3 separate regions of the Homo sapiens genome follow, and all the other regions are linked to region 1. The links are contacts of gene promoters, found by promoter capture Hi-C in blood cells and fetal thymus (Javierre and others, 2016). All regions are on one chromosome and are shown on one strand. The core of a region is centred on a gene start or on the middle of the fragment in contact, and the rest is flanking DNA. Distances in the headings are between cores, read along the strand shown.

Region 1 (3,385 bases), core at 592-3,091:
TGGATAACCTAGATGGGCCCAATGTAATCACAATGATTCTTTAATTGTAGAAGAGAAGGAGCAGAGGTCTGAGTCAGAGAGAGGTTTGAAGATGTTACATTGCCAGATTTAACGTGTGAGGAAGAGGCAACTTCTAGAAGCTGGAAAGGGCAAGAACATAGGTTGTGATCTAGAGCTTCCAGAAAGAACACAGCACTTCCAATACACTGGTTTCTGCCCAGTGAGATTCTCTTTGGATTACTAACCTCCATCACTGTAAGGTAATATATTTGTGGTAATTTAAGCCACTAAGTTTGTGGTGATTTGCTGGCAATAAGAAACTGATACAGAGACCAAGTAACAGAGGCCATTACACACTTTGCGCTGAGGGCAGTTGGGAGTTTAAAGTGAGGAAGAGAAATGGTCAGTTTGCCATCAAAGATCAAATTGATACAAGATGGATTTTTGGGGTAGATGGTGGCAGGGAGATGTTATAAGGCTGTGGCAATGGTGCAAACAAACAAACAAACAAAAAATGATTAGCGGCTTAACCGGGAGAGTAAAGTAGGAGTAGATAGAATCGGGCAAATTAATTTTAGTGATAAAATTAGTGGGACTTGGGGACCAACTAAACATGGGAGATAAGGGGAAAAAGAAGTATCTAGAAGCATTCCTTAGTTTCTGGCTTGGGTAGACTTTGGTATTGTCACTGAGATAGGAAATGCAGGAAGAAGCCTTTGTTTTTTTTTCCTGTTTTGGTGAAAGTTGTGTGTTGAGATTTGAGTAGATTGAATTTAAGACAATTGTGGGATATCCATATGGAAGCTGGCAATAGACTATATCCCAAGCTTAGATTTCAAATTTAAGAGTCCTAAGCACATGTGTGGAATTACAACAAAGAGAGCAGAGTGCACTGATTAAGAAAACAGCCTCAGGAGCCACCATTTAACAGCAATTGTCAGTCTTCCTCAATCTTTGAAAAATAAAGAGTAATTATTGATAAGGCTACTAAAATAAATAAATGTTTAAAAGGGTGTTTGGCACAGTATATGGAAGTTAGTAGATTCTGAAGAAATGGTAACTGTTATTACTAGTCGGGCCAGAAATAAAAGAGAACAGCAGTGGACCAAAGAAAGTATGAAGTTAAGTCTAAACAACAGGTGGGTTAGACACATACTGTCTCTGCCCTCAGAATACTCCCAGTCTAGTTAGCTTCTTACAGTCAGGGGCCATATTTTACTCACGGCTGTGTCCTGCCCAGTGCTTAGCTCAATGACTGGCCCAGAAGCGTCAAGCACTTTATAAATTTCGGCTGGATGGTTGAGGAGAAAGAGGGAAATAGGATCAAGCTGCAGGAGCAGAGAGGAGGCAGTGGGAGAGTGGTAAAGGGCGCTAGAAAGGAGAAGGAAACCTAGGGGACAGAAGAGGCAGGAGGAAGGCAATGAGCCCCTTAGGAAGCCAACGCGTCTGCCTTGTGGACCTGGTGTGGGAAGAAGCTGTGGGAGCCTGGGGATGGGGTGTGGTCTATATGGGGGAAGATGTAGAATGGGCAAAAACAATCACTCGGGAATTTTTATTGAACGGAACAGGGCTCCTTGGAAGCCAGGGGAAATTAACCAGTTACCCACCAACAAAGCTTATACGTTTTCGTTAGGATTGGCTAAGGCGTGATGGTTTCAGAGAAAGATGAAGTTTCAACTGTGGTCCTCTCAGATCAGGCCTCTCGGACCGATTTTCCCAGCTCTGCGGGCGCTCTACGCGCTGGCGCGAGCCGCCCCTCAGGAGGCCACCGCCCTTCTGGGGCCGCTACCATTGGAAGCCTGGAACGCGGGGGGCGGGGCTGAGGTCGTTGGGCTCTGGCCATTCCTGGTCAGGTCCGGACAGAGGGACAACGGGGTGCTAGAGAAGGAGAGCGGGGCGGGTGAGGAAGGGGCTGAGGGGGCTGTGCCGGCCATGGAGCTGTACCTCGGCGCCTGCTCCAAGCCTGCCAAAGTCGCCGTCACCAAGACGGTCGCCAGCGTCCTGGCCGCGGACACCCAGCAGTGCAGAGACGTGAGTGGCCGCAAGCTGGGCGGCGTCGCCCTCTGGCGGCCGCAGGCCTGCTGGGGAGCGGGGCAGGGATCGCCACACACGGGTCGCGAGGCTCCCAACTGTCCCCCGTCAGGAGGCTGCCCTCTTGCGGCGCCCGGGGGCGGTGGCGGTGGCTCGGACTGTACCGGCCGCAACTGGCAGGCGCGGGACGCCAGGAGAGCTGGTGACCAGGGAAAACGGGAGGACTTCAGGATGCCCCGAACCCTGATTGTATAATTCTTCGGAGTCTTTGGTTGCAATGGAAGTAGATTGGTCTAAACTAAACTAATACTGCCTAAAAGGAAAGACAAAACTCTCCAATTGTGTCTGACAGGGCGTGCACAAAACCCACTTTGCAGGGGTTGGACCGGCTCAGCTACTGGACCTACCTCTCGGGGTCAAGCTGCCTGTGATCCCAGGAAGCAATGCTGTATTCTATACTACGAATTTCGGTGAAAAGGTGAACAAGTTTTTATCGTCTTTCTTTCCTTTACCCTTTACTACTTGCTGTTTAACTCAAAGGCTGCATCATACAAAATTCATTAAAGGAATTTGCATCAACATTTACAGGAAAAAGAAAATCCCACATCTGACCGAAGGTATTGTTTAGAATGCATATGAAGCACTTTCATCTTAATGGTTTGGACATAATCATATTCCAGAAAGTTTAGATTCTTAGTCCTTAATTAACAATTCACGGTACCATATTAATATTCCTTATAATAAAACTTCATATATACTTATATAGTAAGATTTGATGTACTTAGAAACATGTTTAGAAGCTGAAAGGTTATTAGTGATAGCTGCCATTTAATGATATGTTACGATTTTAACTGACAGTATCTTGGACCAAACTCTCTTCACGGGAAACATTATTTTGTTTTGAGTTGAATTCTATTTTACACATAAAGAAAAAAAAAAGAACTGAAACAGTGGGACTTAAAATGAGTTAATATGTTTAGTACTTTAACCTTACTTTAATGAAAGAAAGCCCTGCCTCAATGAGGAAGAGACTCCATAATTTGCCCCAGCCTTTCCATCCAGCATTGTCTCCAACCAGAGAGGCTCAGCTTCTTCAAGTTGAGTCTTTCACACCTACCCATAAATACCATGCTAATACTTCAGTATTTTGTCAACTTTGCCCCCAAACCTGGCATACCTTGTCTTCTTCTCCCCAGTCTATGAATCTGAGCTATCAAGATTCTCTGAACTGTGATAGCCCCCCCGTTAGCTTATTTTTGCTTAGAGTTCACGTTGCCCTTGATTTGTGTGATCTCACTTACACAAACCATAGTTAATCATACTGGATTATAGTGTGTACTTCCCTTAAGCCTTT
Region 2 (3,471 bases), core at 316-2,815, 410 kb before region 1:
AGGCCAGAAAACAAGTCTTAACAAATTTAAGAAGATTAACATCATACCAAGTACCTTTTCCAACAATGGTAAAAAACTAGAAATCAATAATAAGAACAACATAGGAAAATTCACAAATATGTGGAAATTAAACAACATATTTCTAAACAGCCAAGGTCAAAGAAGAAATCAAAAAGGAAATTTAAAAATATATTGAGACCAATGAAAATGGAAACATACCATGCAAAAACTTATGCGATACAGCATAAAGAGTACTAAAAAGGACATTTCTAACAAAAAATGATTACAGAAGAAAAACATTTCAAACACCTTAACTTTATACCTCAAAAACTAGAAAAAGAAAAACAAACACCAAAGTTAGTAAAAGAAAGAAAATAACAGAAATCAGAGCAGACGTGAATTAGAGACTAGAAAAATAGTAGAAAAAAACTGAAGTGTTTTTTGAAGACTTCAATAATGACAAAATTTAAACTAGAATAACTAAGGAAAAGAAGACTCAAATAAGTAAACTCAGAAATGAAAGAGGAGACATAAGAACGAATATTTCAGAAATACAAAGGATCGTAGGAGACTACTATGATCCATTATATGCCAACAAATTGGATATCCTAGAAGAAATAAATAAATTCCTAGAAACTCACAACTTATCAAGCCTGAATAAGGAAGAAATAAATATCTGAATAGGACAATAACAAACAAGAATATTGAATCAATAATCACAAATCTCCCAATAAATAAAAGTTCAGCACCTGATAGCTTTACTAGTAAATTCTATATTTTTATTTTCACATTTTGGAAAAAAAATAGGCAAACATTGCTGTTGTTTTTATAGTTCTGCTAGGAGTTTCTAGTTGGTACTAATAATGTTCCTGTTTTATTGTCCATCAGGGCTATCCCTGAGCATAGCTATGGCATTGTCACACTTCCACATCTCTTCATATCTGAAGTATGCCATCATATTTACACAACTCTCTTCGAGCTAGGCTTCAATTTTTTTTTTTCCTCCAACAGATATTCATAGTGGGAATATTCCATGTGACTAGGGATAAATGTTGAAAAATTGGTAGTCATGTAACAGACTTGCCAATAGCTAATCGAAATGTTTGTATACCTTCTCTTGGCTTGGTCCTTTGTGCTGACATAATCTGCTTGTATATCTTACTTTGTAGCTTGGTGTTAAGAATGCATTAGTTTATAACGAAAAGCTTGAAATGTGGTTACCTGAGGTTCCATAATCACAACTTTGTTGATCAAGTGGAGCCAGAAGCAAGAACTATCCCTCAGATGAGGAGCAGTAAATTGATAAAGAGGGCATTATTTTGCCCCCAAACATAGGAGCTTCCGTTGGGATTATTTGGTGTTTGACACAGGCTGTATACAGTAGTCAGATCAACCACAACTAATTTCAACTTGCTTTCTGGCAATGTGACAGAAATATTTACAGTGCAGCCTGGAAACTAGGTAGCCTTCTCTTGTAACAAGCATCAGATAAAGCTGTTATCCTTTTGCGTTAACAATTGGGAAAGAAAAGCCCTCTCCATGTATGATGCCTACAAAAGCAGGAGAGACTACATAAAGCTGAGACAGGTGATAAAGTAGAATCACTGGATTAGCTAGTTTCAATACAATTTCTCACATTCTCAGATTTCAAAATACAAAAAAAGTGCATTGGCTAGATTGAACACCACTGAAAGACCAACTGAACATTAGCTATAATCATTGATAATATACTGTCATTCTCTAAGACTGATCTAATTTTTCTGCACTGGTAAAACTGGATTTTAAATAAGAAAGCTCTAGGAATCGTTACCCTTGAGGATTTGACATCTTTAACACTGATGGTAATATTTGTGATTTGCCTCTGTCCCTCCCTCAGTCTCACTCCTAGAATATGATAAACTTTTGACTTAAATTTTGGTGAAGAGGAAGCTTCAGATTCTTCTACTTGGCTCTTCACATAATAGTCTCTAAGGGTGATCTTGAGAGTTAGTATATTTACTCTAACTTTCTTAATCCCACCACTCTTTACATACAGCTTTCTTTTTTTCTGCTCTTTTGGGTAACAAAAACATTGGAAAATAATTTATTGATACATAACAAATGTACATATTTTCACAGTATATGTGATAATGTAGCACACATTTATATAATATTTAAAGATCAAATCAGTGTTGTTGGGATTCCATCACTTTAATATTTTTCTTTTTTTTAAAGGCTAGGAACATTCTAATTATTATCTTCTAGCTATTTTGAAATATACAATAAGTTATTGCAAACTATAGTCACCCTACTCATCTATCAAACACTCAGTCTTATTTTTTCTATCAAACTGTATTTTTTTTTTTTTTTTGAGACAGAGTCTCGCTCTGTCACCCAGGCTGGAGCGTGGTGGCCCGATCCTGGCTCCCTACAACGTCCACCTTCCAGGTTCAAACAATTCTCCTGCTTTAGCCTCCCGAGTAGCTGGAACTGCAGGCGCGTGCCACCATGCCCGGCTAATTTTTTGTATTTTTAGTAGAGATGGGGTTTCACCGTGTTCGCCAGAATGGTCTTGATCTCCTGACCTCGTGATCTGCCCGCCTTGGCCTCCCAAAGTGCTAGGATTAAAGGTGTGAGCCACTGTGCCTGGCCTTGTCAAACTGTATTTTTATACCCATTAATCAACTTCTCTTTATCCTCTCCTCTACCCTTTCCTGCCACTGATAACCACCAATCTACTCTCTCCGTTCATAAGATCTACTTTTTTAGCTCTCACGTGAGTGAAAACATGTGGTATTTGTCTTTCCTGTAACAAAACTTGAAGGATTTGTTTATGTTCACTGTTCCTAGTACATCTTCTTCCATGTTTTTTTGTAAATTCATTCTAATTTTTAAAAAGTAAACGTTAGGATTAAGAAATAATTACACACACCCATTTCAAAAATTTTAATCACTTAAATGTTAAAATACTGCAATGACCCCCATTAATTTAGGATTAAAACCAGACTTTTAAAAATGACTTTTCGATGCCCTTGAAGTTTACTTTCAAAATATGTATCAAAATAAATTTTTGATCATTCTTTAATTGTTGTATGAATTTGCTGTAAACACCTGCCATGTTATCACCACTTAAAACTGAACTTTATTACATTATGTTCCAGAATCATTACATGCTTTCTTACCTCCATTCTTTATCTCTCTAACTCTTACATAAAGTTATAATTTATATATTAAACTTATGGCATATGGATTCATAGAAGCCTATAGTAGCCCTAACATGAAGCTTGTAATTCTGCATTAATTATAAATTCTTATTACCATTTTATCTTCCTCCATAGCAACAATAGCAACTACAATAATACATAGAATCTGTAAGGAATAGATGTGAGGAGAATTTGACTGATTGATTCTTCTTTTGCAAATCTTTTCATACTGGTTTCTGGTAGCAGGCTATACACTACATACTAAAATAATAATTTATTAATACTGTAA
Region 3 (3,659 bases), core at 1,102-3,601, 460 kb before region 1:
AACCGGCATCACTTAGCATATCATGACTAAACATCACACCTATCCTAATCATACCATCTCTTTAGGATAGTTTTATAACTATTCATCTTTTCATTTATTCTAATATAATTTCTCTCCTGTCCTTTAATTTAAACCTCTCTATCAAAGGTCATTGATTACTTCTTAATAGTCTTCTCTGTTTTATTTGAATTGTTGATTCCTCTTCTGGAAATTTTTTTCTGTTTATATTCATAATGTTTTAATTCCTAGTTCTTTCTTACTTGTTAAACATCTATTGAGTACTCAAACCCTTGAAAGCCTTTCTGGGACATTATCGGCTAGTGAGAGAAGTAGACATGTATGAAAATACAATTGTTTTTCAACTGTGAAACATCATCCCTTTTGGTTATATTACAGTGAAAGAGAAAAATATCAACATTGGATTTGAATATGATAATGAACCTGATAAATTTACATACATGTTTCTTCCCTCAACCTCACATAGGCAAATAAAAAGAATGCATTCTAAATTTTTATTGGTCATTCGTTCTCTACACTTTCCAAATCATTCTTTTTGTATCAAAATGCTCATGGCTTGTTTTGGAAAATAGCAATTGCCTTTAATATGTCACCTTGTGCTGAAGCATTCATAATGTAAGCCTTATTTAAAATTAATAAGGACTTTTCCTTATTCTGTAAACATAGAAATTCTAATCACTTTACAACGAAAAAGGCAAAGGAATTACACACAGCATTTGTGTCTGCACGTAGACATGTGCATTCCACAGAGAAAGTAGGCTCAGATAAGAGGTTTAGTGCTCGGGTTAGTTTTAAGCATGTTGAGTGTATAGTCTATAGTGCCAATTGACTTACATGTGGAATTAAATAGGGCAAGCTTGGAGGTGCCACTTCAGCTGAGTGCAATCCATAGGGCTTTCCATTGTTGGGAACTAAAATTTGCACAATGTAATGTAGCTGGGAAAATAGAGATATAACCTGTGGTTAATTAAACACATGTGGTAACAATACTTTTTTCTTTAGCCATATACAGTCATATTAACATATGAAGAAACAGTTGTGAGTGAAACTATCCTGGTATCATTCTTCAGTTAAGTATGAGATACAACTCTTGCAGAATTCCAAGAAATACTAACACAAATAAAAGAAAGAAATAAAAACAATAAAATTGTGATACAAAATTTTATCAAAGAGGTTGAAAGAATACCTGAAGTTCCTAGGAAAGGGACCAATGAAGGAGAAAGTGATTAACATAATCACTTCTTTACAAGAAGTAAAGCAGAAGCACTGTAGTTTGTCCACTGTAGTTATTATAAGGAGCCATTGATTGGCAACCTTACCAAAGAGATCAAGGAGAAGAGAGAGAGCTAAGGCCAAATAGTATGAGTTAAAAAAATAAAAATAAATGAAGACAGTGAATAATATGTAATCTTTCAAGAAAGGTGGCTGTGAAACAGTAGGTAGAGATAGGCCTACACATGTTTGGCGGGGGTAGATATGAGGCATCATTTATTTCTGTATTTAAGATGGCAGATCCTTAATAATCTTAAAAGGTGTTAGAAATGAATCATAATAGGAGTGATTGAATACACAGGCGAGAGTGAGACAAATGAGAGAAAGTCCCCTGAAGTCACTTTATAGCTTTCCTTTCTTTCACTCTTATATATGCTTATTGTGAATTTTAGTCTTCAGTCTTAACCCTCCCAAGAGAGTTCATAGAGCGTAGTGCTTAACAATCACCTCTCTGAGACTGATCCTAAAATCCCATCTCTAGCTGTAATCCCTCTACTTTAAATTTCAATCCTGGATCTCTAATTGCCTGCTGGGCATTTCCATTTTAAATTCAACATATCTAAAAACTAACTCTTCATTCTTCTGAAAAATCAACTTTGCCTCTTGACTCCTTTGTAATTTGTGGTCTGACAGCTTTTCTCTGACTATTCCCACTTCCTTATTCGTTTATATTCAAATACTGTGTCTACCCTTAACCATACAGTGTTTGATTAATCACAAACCTCACAGAATGTTTCCTTATCTGTTTGGACTACATGACCTTTAAGTTCTCTCCCAAAACTAATTTTGCTTCATTCTAGAAGCTGCCATTAATATGAAGCTCACTTGCACTGCAGTAAAGATTGTCTAACTTCATAGACCTACTTTATGAATGGAAAAAGGTAATTAAACTGACAATTGCTTTCTCCCCAAGGGAACTTAAAAAACAATTTTCATTTTTTTAAAAAAATTTAGGTCTTCTAACTTCATCATGTATGGTAGTATACATATATATTACATTTTATATAACTAAAATATCTATTTAAGAATTTGTTTTTTCCAAAAAAAAATCACCAATAATTTAGCCAGGTTAGGTCAGAGAATATTCAGCAAATCATGAATGAGTTCCCTCAAGGATGATTTTCTGGTGGGAATAATTCATTTGATAAAATACTCAAAAGAGCAATTAAGTAGCTGTAAGGAGACCCCCTGAAACTATTGCTATGGAATAAAAGATGAAAGGCTCCTGATTATTGTAAATACAAAATTGCATGCAGGATTGTGTAAAGACAATGCCAGACTGGGCTGCCAGAATGAGCCAACAGCATGTGATGTGCTTCCCTCTGCAGAGAGCCTATGAATGGACATGAAGTCAGGGAGGTTTCACATCACCAAGATTCCTATCCCAGAAAAGCAGATGGTCATAGCTCTGGGAATGGAATGTGACCCTTGTGGAGAACCTATAAAAGGATGCATGAGGGGCGCCTGTCCATATGGACAAGATAGGGCTATAAATGCCCTCATCTTGCCACGGCTCTTCTAGGCCTCTTTAGGGTTAAGGCATAGTCCCTTCTGAGAATTTCTGGTCTAACCGGTTGTCCAGCTTCATGTCCTGTTTCTATTGATTGTTTGCTGCAACTGTTACTGCTGATTAATATCTTACTAATCATAGGTTATGGAAAGACTGTGTTTCTGTTTTAAGGCTCTGTTAGAAATTGCTGATGCACACACTATATTGTAAATTCTTATCTCTGTATACTGTACTTCTGCATACCAATATTATGTTAAAGAATTACTTCATCCCCATGTGACCATCTCACCTCATAATCAAATGACCCTAAATCCCTCACTAACCTACCCCCGCCCTCACTAAACTTAATAATAAATGCTGGTGTATCCAGTGCATTGGCGGCATTGCAGGACCAGAAGGAGGTGACTCCCCTGGACCCAGCTTTCACTATCTTGTGTGTGTCTATTATTTCTCGACCTGCCAATCTGCCTGGAAACAAAGAAAGAGCCCCGTTGCATTGTGGGCTGCTGGCCAAATCCCGCAATAAATATCAATATATTGAAATTAAAAAGTTAGTTGAGATTATGTCTAAAAATACTTCAAAGCTACTTTCATTTAATTAAAGAAAGACAGTATGTCTCATTATTGTGGTGATTGGGTAAGATGTACCTTGGCCTTCTCAGTTCATTCTAAAGATCTGTCAGTTACCTAAGACCCAGTGCTAAATATTCAGTTGCCAGCAATTTGAAAAAATATATAACATACATGCTTTTCATGAACTCATAATTAATTCTTTTGGGAACGTCAGTCAAAAATTACTAATTTTTATTTATTCTTGCATTTATTCATCCATTTACTGACCTAACTATACAGCATATAT

What was found. The method cuts DNA at HindIII sites, captures the fragments that hold promoters and counts their contacts. A CHiCAGO score of 5 or more calls a contact.
Region 2: a fragment that was not itself captured here is called in contact with the fragment with the promoter of FSIP2 in region 1 in 1 of 17 cell types (megakaryocytes); the score reaches 5.6 in megakaryocytes.
Region 3: a fragment that was not itself captured here is called in contact with the fragment with the promoter of FSIP2 in region 1 in 2 of 17 cell types (megakaryocytes and erythroblasts); the score reaches 6.4 in megakaryocytes.

What each region holds. Positions count from the first base shown.
Region 1 is chr2:185,736,963-185,740,347 of GRCh38, forward strand. It overlaps FSIP2 (fibrous sheath interacting protein 2), which reads left to right and starts at 1,842. Exons shown (of 23, transcript NM_173651.4): 1 at 1,842-2,031; 2 at 2,384-2,509. The coding sequence starts at 1,933. The region is part of intron 1 of FSIP2-AS2 (FSIP2 antisense RNA 2); the gene reads right to left. RefSeq lists a silencer at 1,974-2,243. The HindIII fragment of the contact is 3,199 bases long and covers 1,614-3,385 here.
Region 2 is chr2:185,322,840-185,326,310 of GRCh38, forward strand. No RefSeq gene overlaps it. Among named protein-coding and RNA genes, the nearest start is that of FSIP2, 410 kb to the right of the region's middle. The HindIII fragment of the contact is 724 bases long and covers 1,204-1,927 here.
Region 3 is chr2:185,273,320-185,276,978 of GRCh38, forward strand. No RefSeq gene overlaps it. Among named protein-coding and RNA genes, the nearest start is that of FSIP2, 460 kb to the right of the region's middle. The HindIII fragment of the contact is 2,958 bases long and covers 873-3,659 here.